Regions from separate parts of the Homo sapiens genome. Here all the other regions are linked to region 3. Evidence: promoter capture Hi-C in human tissues and cell types (Jung and others, 2019). All regions are on one chromosome and are shown on one strand. The core of a region is centred on a gene start or on the middle of the fragment in contact, and the rest is flanking DNA. Distances in the headings are between cores, read along the strand shown.

Region 1 (3,121 bases), core at 10-2,509, 310 kb after region 3:
CCATCAATCCCAGTCCTGGATCTTGCTGAGGGCTGGAAGCCTTGGGGTTTGTTCACACATTTCTTAGTGCAAAAGCGCGATCTCTCCTATGCCTGAACTCGGGCTGCTGCTTGCTGTGGGGGAATAACGGGCTACAGAGAATGCCTTCTCCGCTGTGCGGAGCTTTGTTGTGCTCCGACTTTGCTGTATTTGAGGGCAGTACAGCCTCAGGAGCTAGTGAATCACAGGTTCAGCAGGCTGCAACCCCATGGACCACCCCAGTAGGAGAAGCTTTGGGTAATGTCTATAGGAGCAGGGGACGGAGTATTTTGCAACATGCTCTATTTAAAGGTCCCGCCTTCTCTCCCAAGGGCCAGCACTGCTGGTCCTACCCAAGATGAAAGGGCGGTGGGCAGGAGTGGTCCTGCTGACCAGCCGCCTGGCAGAAAGGCCTCATCTCAGCCAGGGGGGGCCACCTGTTGGTTCTCAGCTCTTACCAAAGCCGGAATAGGGAAGTCCCAACCTTGCTTCTGATGCTGTGAATCTGTACTCCTCTCTGGCTGGCTTACTCAGCACTGTGAGGGGTCTGCCTTCTCCAGGGCTGCCTCACAAAGGGGAGGAATTAATGAACTTCTATCACGGGTGTATTGGCCAAGGCTGATCCTCGTGTTTTGAATCCTCATGAATTCTACGCTGGCTCTTCACATTTGGGGTTTGTGCCTGAAGTGTGACACATTTCCCCTAGCTTCACGGAAGACAGTACCAAATGATCCTCTGCGGTCATCCTGCCCTGGAGTACGCTGGACCACAGAAGCTGGATGTGTAGCCCGAGCTTCTCTCTCACTACAGCCCTGTCGGAAAACTCTACCCCCCAAACCAGAGGGAAACTTGTGCGCCTCCCTGACCAGCACCTTCTCTCTGGTTTACAGACGGGAAACGGGAAGTAACGTGGGTATGGAGGCAACAGCCGCTGTCTGTGGAGGCTTGGCCCTGCTTAGGAGGGGTGCGTGAGCTCCTGGTCCTCTGACTTCACAGTGAGTGACACACAAGCGCCTCACTCAGGTGTAGAATTTACACCAGCATCCTCAGGTTAGGGAGTGTCAGTAATAATCATGATGGTAATGACTTCAAAAATAAAATGAATGCATTCACTAGTGAAGGCTCCACATGGGTAAGGACTTTGTTTTATTGACTACTTAGCAGGTGCTCTGTATATGTTGGTTGAATGGGCAAATAATAAAATAATGGCCATGGCATGAGTTTGTCAGATAATGATAGACAATCCCAGGGAGTTCCTTGGAGCACAGGTGCTATGCAGCCAGCCTGGAAATGGTGCAGGGAACTACACACACCTCTAGAGTCACCATCCCTGTGGCTTCAGCCTCCATGCACACAGACCCCACAGCTCCTGAGGACACAGACATTAGTTCTGGGACCAACACATCTCTGTGTCCTACTCCAGAAAGGCTCACGACCTCCCTCTCTCATCTCCCGGACATACGTTGCTCATGGTCCTGGCTGGTGATGTGGGCTGGGCAGACTAGAAACTGCCCAAGGACACAGGGCCCGCTCCTGCTGGCATCTTCGAGGACCCAGTCAGTGATGCTGTGACCAAGAATAGCCGTGCCCAGCTCCTGGCTGCCTCCTGGCCATCATCTCTAAATTGCCACGAGATCTTAGAGGCTACAATCTTATGGTCTTGGAGCCTGATAGTGTTAATAGTGATGCTCAGTTAAATCTCATTTGTTTATTTAGAGCTTAAAAGATAAACTACCAGGGAAACTGGCTGGTCACAATGTAAGCCTTAATAAACCCTGTAGGAAGAATTTTAAAGCTTATAGTCAGAGACCTCCCTTCCTCCCTCCCTTCCTCCTTCCTTCCTTCCTCTCCCTCCCTTCCTTCTTTTCTTCCTTCTGTGTGATTTCAACTCCAAAAATCATGGTTTAACAAAATGTTTAATGCAAGTGTTTTTTTGTTTTATTTTTTTGAGACAGAGTCTCGCTCTGTCAGGCTGTAGTGCAGTGGCGCGATCTCGGCTCACTGCAGCCTCTGCCTCCTCCCGGGTTCCAGCGATTCTCCTGCCTCAGCCTCCCAAGTAGCTGGGCCTACAGGCACCCACCACCACGCCCAGCTAATTTTTTATATTTTTAGTAGAGAGGGGGTTTCACCATGTTGGCCAAGATGGTCTCAATCTTTTGATATTGTGATCTGCCCTCCTCAGCCTCCCAAAGTGCTGGGATTACAGGCGTGAGCAACCGTGCCCAGCCTAATGCAAATGTTTTAAAGGGCTAGTTTCATTGGAAAAATAGCATTGCCAGGGGCTGTGACATGTAACAGATGCCAAGAAAGTATCTCTTATTTGAAAGTGTATTACAACCAAACAGGAATCTGCTATTATGATTGTTTTGCCTGTTTTTGTTTTGTTTTGTTTTTTGTTTTCCTGATATGGAGTCTTGCTCTGTCACCCAGGCTGGAGTGCAGTGGCGCGATCTCAGCTCACTGCACGCCCTACCTCCCGGGTTCACGCCATTCTCCGGCCTCAGCCTCCCGAGTAGCTGGGACTACAGGCGCCCGCCACGACGCCCGGCTAATTTTTGTATTTTTAGTAGAGACGGGGTTTCACCTTGTTAGTCAGGATGGTATCGATCTCCTGACCTCGTGATCCACCCGCCTCAGCCTCCCAAAGTGCTGGGATTACAGGCGGGAGCCACTGCGCCCGGCCGTTTTGCCTGTTTTTTAAGAAAATTACAATTTAATCACAATATTAGCCTGGCCCACAGGAAAAAAAACCCATTTGGGAACAAATGTTTCTCCCATGAAATAAAAACTCCTCTTTTTCCCCTAAATGCCTCTAGGCAATATTCTCTTCTTTATAGTTTATATCCGTTTGAAAATAATGACATAATATTGTCTGTTCAGTTTCTCATTTTTATTTTTAAACCCATAAACCTTTCAGATCCTGAGCTTGGATGAGACTGACTGTCTTTCATGGAACAGCTTCCCCAGGCTGCACTGGGACCCTTCCTATACGAGGGACAGTGTCCAGCCCCCAGGCCTTGGAAGGGGGTGACTTTCCAGCCCCAGCTCCCATCCATATCAATGACCATATCTGAGGCCCAGATGGGGGATTTCTGCTGGAGCT
Region 2 (3,009 bases), core at 52-2,551, 290 kb after region 3:
AATTTTGAAATTACTGCCAAATGAATGTTAAAAAGTAAGCACTACTTTTATCTCCTTTCAAGAGAAAAATTGCTATTTACTTTGTTTCTCTTCCATTTATTGCCCTCCCCCTCACAACTTCTTATGCAGAGCCCCAATCTCTGTAAATAAACCCTGAACACATTTTGTAGTGTCACAAAGTAACAGAGGCTTAAAAAAATAGGTGAAGGGCATTGCAGAATTAGTCAACTGGAGAGTTCTCAATATCCAAAGAGGGAACAATATGCACAACAAAATAAACAACATGATGTTAGTTACAACCCAAAGAATGAATTCAAATTGATAGAAATTATTGAAATAAACAAATGGAGGAGAAAAAACAACTATTACTTTCAGAAGAATTCCAGTGAATAAGTGTAGAAAGAATGAGGAAAAGAGAAAATCACCATGAGAACACCACAGTAATAATTATTGCAGGCAGAATCCATTGATCAGTGGTAAAAATGAGTGGATGACATTTTAAGGAGGAACACAATGCTTGCATGACATCAAAGATATGTCTCTAAAAATTTAATAATTACTGTGGTGGTTTTAACATACGATCACAAATTGTCTGATACTCCCCTCTCTCTAGAAGGTGGAGTTAAGTCCCCCTCCCCTTCAGTCTGGGATGACTTGGTGACCGAGGGGAAAGTAGTCACTTTACAGTGGAGAAACAAATACCCCCTTAAATAAGTGTGGTTAAGGCTCTCAGCGCTACTAATAAGTATTGTGGATATCATGTGTCCCTTGATGTGACATGATGTGACACGCTGACTCTATGATGCACTTCTCCCAACACCAGAATGCTGTCTATTCATGAGAAAACTGAAGACTAGCTCAAATTCTGGAATATTTTACAAAATATGTGAACACTGTTCATTTAGAAGTGTCAAGGTCATGAAAGATAAAGACTGAGAAACGGTCACAGATTGGAGGAGAATAAGGAGATATGATTGATAGATATATACACCAATAAATGCAACGTGGCATCCTGGATTGAATCCTGGAACAGGAAAAACAGACAATAAGTAGTGGAAGACTGAATCTGATAAATTCTGCAGTAAATTTTATTGTACCAATGCTAATTTTATTGTTTTGATAAATGTACCATGGCTACGTAAGATGTTAATATTAGAGAAAGCTAGGTGACAGGTATATGGGAACACTCTGTACTATCTTTGTAACTTTCTCTAAATCTAGAATTATTTTGAAATAAAAAGTAAAAAGCACATGCATCTTCCTGACACCATCAGCAGACAGGAATTAAGGAGCATTGTTTGCCTGAGGAACATTTTCAGTGCACAAAGAGATATTCCGTCCTGGAGCCAGCAGCGTCCTGCTGTTTAGCCCTGTGTCATGTGTCCAGGACTAGGAGTTAGGAGACCCCCCCACACTCTTTACAGGGCAAGTTACTTGAACTAAGTTTCTGTTTTCTCATCTGTAAAATGGAACAACATGTACTTTCCCAATTAACCAGTTTTCAGTGGAAAAGGCTGCTGTGAAAAATGTTTTGCCTGACACAATAAGTGCTTAATAAAATCCTGGACTGCCTAATTTATATCCTTATGTAGATTACTGATAGGTCAGAGGCCACAAGCTCGGAAGCCTGTGGAGTCCTGGTGTGTTTAGAAGGCTCTGTGGCAAATTCTTGAATGCATGGCTTGTTTCAAACAGACACTGCCACTCAACTCCAAGCAACTATTGCCCATGGGGCATGGTCCCAGAGTTACCTGATATTCAAGTTTTTCAAAAGAAGCTGGAAATCTGATTTTTAAAACATTATGTAATTTCTTTATTTTTAAATGTTGATGATAATTTACAGACATTTCAAAGCTCTGTGCAGAGCATCAGAATATGTCTGTTGGCTGGACTTGGCCTTTGGGTCACTAGTTTTTGAGGTCCATATGGATTAATAGAGAAAACTTCTGAGTTCCCCATGGACCATGTAGCTAACTATGCCTTAGCTTCCTGGAGAAACATACACTGGGTGCACATAGAGTCGAAATAAAACAAAGTGAAAGCAATTAGAGAAAGCACCACCCCTCCCCGGTTACTGTTAACCACTGCAGTTTTATTGGTCACAACCAGGCTGTTCAATTTGATGTCTAGTCACTTAATTGTGACTAGAAGGGAACTGGGAGGTCCTTAAGCTCATTCTGCCATGCACAGAGATGCTCCTGGGTTTGCCTCTATGCCTGTTTGGATTGGGACCAGGAGCCGAGGCAGGTCTCTTTTCTCTTGGGCTTTGACCCCATAATCTTGTCCCTTCAACTAGACCCTTAACTACTGTGGGGCAAGGACCTTACTTAATATGGTGCCCTTGGCCCGGTGCGGTGGCTCAAGCCAGTAATCTCAGCACTTTGGGAGGCTGAAGCAGGTGGATCACCTGAGATCAGGAGTTCGAGACCAGCCTGGCCAACACAGTGAAATCCCATCTCTACTAAAAATACAAAAATTAGCCAGGCATGGTGCCCCATGCCTGTAATCCCAGCTACTCGGGAGGCTGAGGCAGGAGAATCGCTTGAACTGGGGAGGCGGAGCTTGCAGTGGGCTGAAATCGTGCCACAGCACTCTAGCTTGGGTGGCAGAGTGAGACTCCGCTCTTAAATAAAATAATTTTTTTAAAAAATGGTCCCCTTCACACAGTGTGCTCAGTGGACAAAGAACCTGTCATCCCCTCATGCCACTTGCCAGTCAAAATTCTCCAAAGAATTTAGAGCTAAAAGCAATTACTTCTCTAGAAAATGTTATATTCTGCTCCTATTAAAAGCTTTTAAAAAGGCAAGGTGGCTAAAATACAAAAATTGGCTAACATATTGTTTCTCCCCTCTGCTTCACCAAACTGCCAGTCCAGTGGCTATTTGGCCTTCACTAATGAATGTTACTTTTTTCCTGAACCGGAAACGGGCTATGTATATTTCTTAAGAGTGCGCTCTAGCCAGGAACTGACTTCCCAAAATAGCTGCGTTTTCAGAAACATTGTTTACT
Region 3 (3,364 bases), core at 73-2,572:
AAGCAGTGCTAACGTTTTGGTTTCTTTTTGTTTGGTTTTCAAAAGGTACATAAAGAGGGTGGGCAACTATAGCACTCAGAGATTATTTTACTGTGATGTTAATGAAGCTTAAGTTTCTAAGTCCCTAGCATTTCATAATAAGTTTCTAAGTCCCTAGCAGTTCTATTCCTTTACTTAAGGCAGGACTCTCCAAATTATATATGTTTTAGAAGCACGAAACCTGAGTCTGCCCCTAATAGCACCACAATCTTTTCAGACCTTACGTCTCCAAAGGTCTTACTTCTCCTGGATGGAGCTCCCTCAGCATCCCAGCTCAGCCCCTTCCCACACCGGGGGCCCTGGTGCTCTGGTGCTGTGGCCTGGTGACTACTGATTCCCCAGTCTGGAACTCATCCTCCTCCTGCATCCTCAACTTCCCTTCCTCCCCTATCCTCTACTTCCCTTCCTCCCCCAACCTCAACTTCCCTTCCTCCCCATTCAAACAATCCACCTAGCGCTGGATACCTGGGAACTCGGATCCCCCTCCTTAACTCCCAGTCTCCTGCTGGGCAAACATACCATGCCTACAAATAAGTGACTGCATCAGCAGGTACTTAAGTACCAAAAGGGGTAGCAGGCTCACCAAAAATTCGACTAGCACAGTGAGTGGCGTCTCCAAGGATTCTCGCCCCAGTCTCTCTGAGCACGAGGAGAGATATGAAATACTGCTCCCTAAGGGGAAACTGAGTGCCAGGCAGCGCCGTCCACCACTGGGCAGGGGGATCCTTCGCTCCACACCCCAGAGGGTTGGAATCCCTCCTTCTCTACCCACCCAATCCCCGACCCTGACTCACCGAACTCGCAAGGGCCGTCGCGCGCCTTGTGCAGGTGACCGGGGTGCGCGCGGGGCGTGTGCCGAGCGCGCAGGCGCAGCGCGCAGACGCTGGGGTACGAGCGACCGTCGGAGCCGCAGACGGTGCCGCGCTGCGCGCACACGCAGAGCCCGGTGCCCTCGGGCGCTGCCCCAGCGGCCTGGCTCGCGCATACCAGGCCGGGGCCACAGCGCCCGCCGGCGCGGCCCCCGCAGCTCGCGCCCTCGGCTCCCAGGCAGCGGGCGCAGCAGCCGCACTCGTCGAGCGCCGAGATCCCGGGCGCCGGGCAGGGCGCAGGCGCCGGGCAGCCCTCTGGCCGGCACGGACCACACTTGGGGCGCCGGCCGCCCACGTCGCGGATCCCAAGGCTCGGGGACAGCGGCGGCAGCAGCGGCAGCAGCAGCAGAAGCAGCAGCGGCAAGAGCAGAGACAAGCGCGGCATGGCTTGCTCCGGGACAGCGGCGGCGCCTCTGCTTCGCGCTCCGCTCCGCGCCCGCCGAGCAGTCACCGCTCCCGCCCCGCGGCCGCTGATTGGCCGGGCCTGCACCGCGGGGCGCCCGCAGACCGCTGCTCCAGCCCGGGACCCGCGCGGTGCCCGCGGCCCGGGTCTCCGAGCTGGAGGGTCGCCCCGAGAGCAGCTCTCCGACCTCCGATTGGACTCTTGAGGGAACCGAGACCCAGTCGGGGCGACAACTTGCCCGAGGTCGCTATGGCAGAGTCAGGATTGGATAACCGTACGGTCTCCGGATCCAAGGCTGGCTCCAGATAGTATGCCCGTAAATCCTCCCAGAAGGATGCGCTATTTTATTTAATTTTATTTTGCATTCAGTAGTTTTCAAAGTTTTATTTTATAAAGAGAATATATGGTTTAAAATGTAGATTTTACATATACATCTAAGGATGAAAAGAGGGTTACCCTACCACCTTGTATCCCCATCCTCCAACTCGGCTTCCAGAGGCCACTCTTGCTATCGGGTTTTTGTATATCTTTTCAGAAATTTTCTCTATGCCTATAAAAGTACATGTGCCTAAAAAAGCCCCTTCCTTTAAAACACACACACTCTGTTTCTCTCTCACACACACAGAGTAGCGTGCCATACACATTAGTCTGCACTTGGTTTTTGCACTTACAGTGTTTCACAGTTTCCCCACCTCTTGTCATCTGTGAAACTGGGTTTCTTATACAATCAATGGGAGCATAGTTCATTGGCTCTGTGAGTGTGTTTCTTAATGCTGCATAAAGTCATGGTACATCTCCGTCCACAGTGACTTTGTTGTGATGAGATATGGTGATATATTTTGGAGTTCATACAGAGTGGCCTTTCCACAGGGTTTAGTTGCAGTTATTTAACCACTTATTTTCCATCCTTTGGTTAATACGAATAATGCTTTGATGAAGTCTTGGTGCACAAGGGTCAGTGTACCTGTGGCTTACTGGGGAATGCATGTTGGAAAGATGCAGTTTCTTGTAGTCAGTTATTCATGCCGCCGTTGCGCCTTCTCTGGGCCAGGCTCTGTGCACACCATCCTGCCTGAGTTCTGGCAGGGCACCCAGACGAGAAACCTAAGAGAGTCTTGGCTGCTGGGATTTGATGTGTTGCTGGGTAAATGCACTGGATGGAGGGAGGGACTCGCTGAGCAGGTTTTATAGGAGACTTTTCCTGCCTTTACTGGCCACCCCTCATGTGTCTTGTGCTCTATTGTTTTTTCTTTGCTGAACTCCTGGAGATGGAGAAAGCCTCTTGCAGCCTGGGAAGACCAGCTACACCGTTCTTGGGTGGGGTTCATTTTGCTTTTCAAGCCCAGTTCCTTCCCAGTTTGCAGTCTTCTTATCCCCAGAAAGGAGCCTCTTCTGAGGCCACTTTATGTGGTGGTCAGAGGAGGGCCATCTGCCTGGTCCACGCCAGGCCTTACCTTACAATCAGCCACACAGAGCAGGGGCGGTTAGGCACCATGAAGGGGTGGTGGTAAGGAATAAATATAACAATGTTGGTAATGCACTCAGCGCAGCTCTCAGAACCTATCAACAGTGACTTTCAACCTGGAGGCTGCTGTCTTTACCAGGAGTGGCCTTTTAAAGTGCTCTCACCGCTTGACCCCTCTGTGCTCTTCCAGGAATCTCTCCTAAAAAAATGATCACTATGTGTGAAGATTTCATCCTGGAGTTGGTTACTATAGCAAAAAATAAATAAATAAATAAAATAAAAATAAAAAAAGTTAACGACCTAAATGCCCACCGAGAGGCAATCGTTAAATAAATTATGGTACATCTAACAATAGAGGATTATGCAGGCATTAACAATTAGAAAGAAAATATGGGTTAATAGAAATGAAAACATGTTTATAATACATTGTTTAGTAAAATAGCGGTTAAAAAGTGCACATCTAATGTAATGGCATATTTGTAAATATGTGAATGTGTAAACATGCAAAAATTTAAGATTGTTTTTAATGATGTGAAGGAAACCCTTTTTTTAAAAAAAAAAAAAAAAAGAGATGGTACCTCATTCTGC

What was found. Contacts are between HindIII fragments. The study calls those that stand out against the background at their distance.
Region 1: a fragment that was not itself captured here is called in contact with the fragment with the promoter of IGFBPL1 in region 3 in 1 of the 25 tissues and cell types used here (dorsolateral prefrontal cortex).
Region 2: a contact is called between a fragment that was not itself captured here and the fragment with the promoter of IGFBPL1 in region 3, in 1 of the 25 tissues and cell types used here (mesendoderm cells).

Annotation. Positions count from the first base shown.
Region 1 is chr9:38,733,199-38,736,319 of GRCh38, forward strand. No RefSeq gene overlaps it. Among named protein-coding and RNA genes, the nearest start is that of FAM240B, 15 kb to the left of the region's middle. RefSeq lists an enhancer at 1-317. The HindIII fragment of the contact is 3,561 bases long and covers 1-3,040 here.
Region 2 is chr9:38,713,847-38,716,855 of GRCh38, forward strand. All of the region lies in intron 1 of FAM240B (family with sequence similarity 240 member B), which reads right to left. Among named protein-coding and RNA genes, the nearest start is that of FAM240B, 4.8 kb to the right of the region's middle. The HindIII fragment of the contact is 5,800 bases long and covers 1-3,009 here.
Region 3 is chr9:38,423,132-38,426,495 of GRCh38, forward strand. IGFBPL1 (insulin like growth factor binding protein like 1) reads right to left here and starts at 1,323. Exons shown (of 5, transcript NM_001007563.3): 1 at 834-1,323. The coding sequence starts at 1,293. LOC105376041 (a long non-coding RNA gene) reads left to right here and starts at 1,480. Exons shown (of 8, transcript XR_007061487.1): 1 at 1,480-1,619. RefSeq lists an enhancer at 2,368-3,364. The HindIII fragment of the contact is 5,843 bases long and covers 1-3,364 here.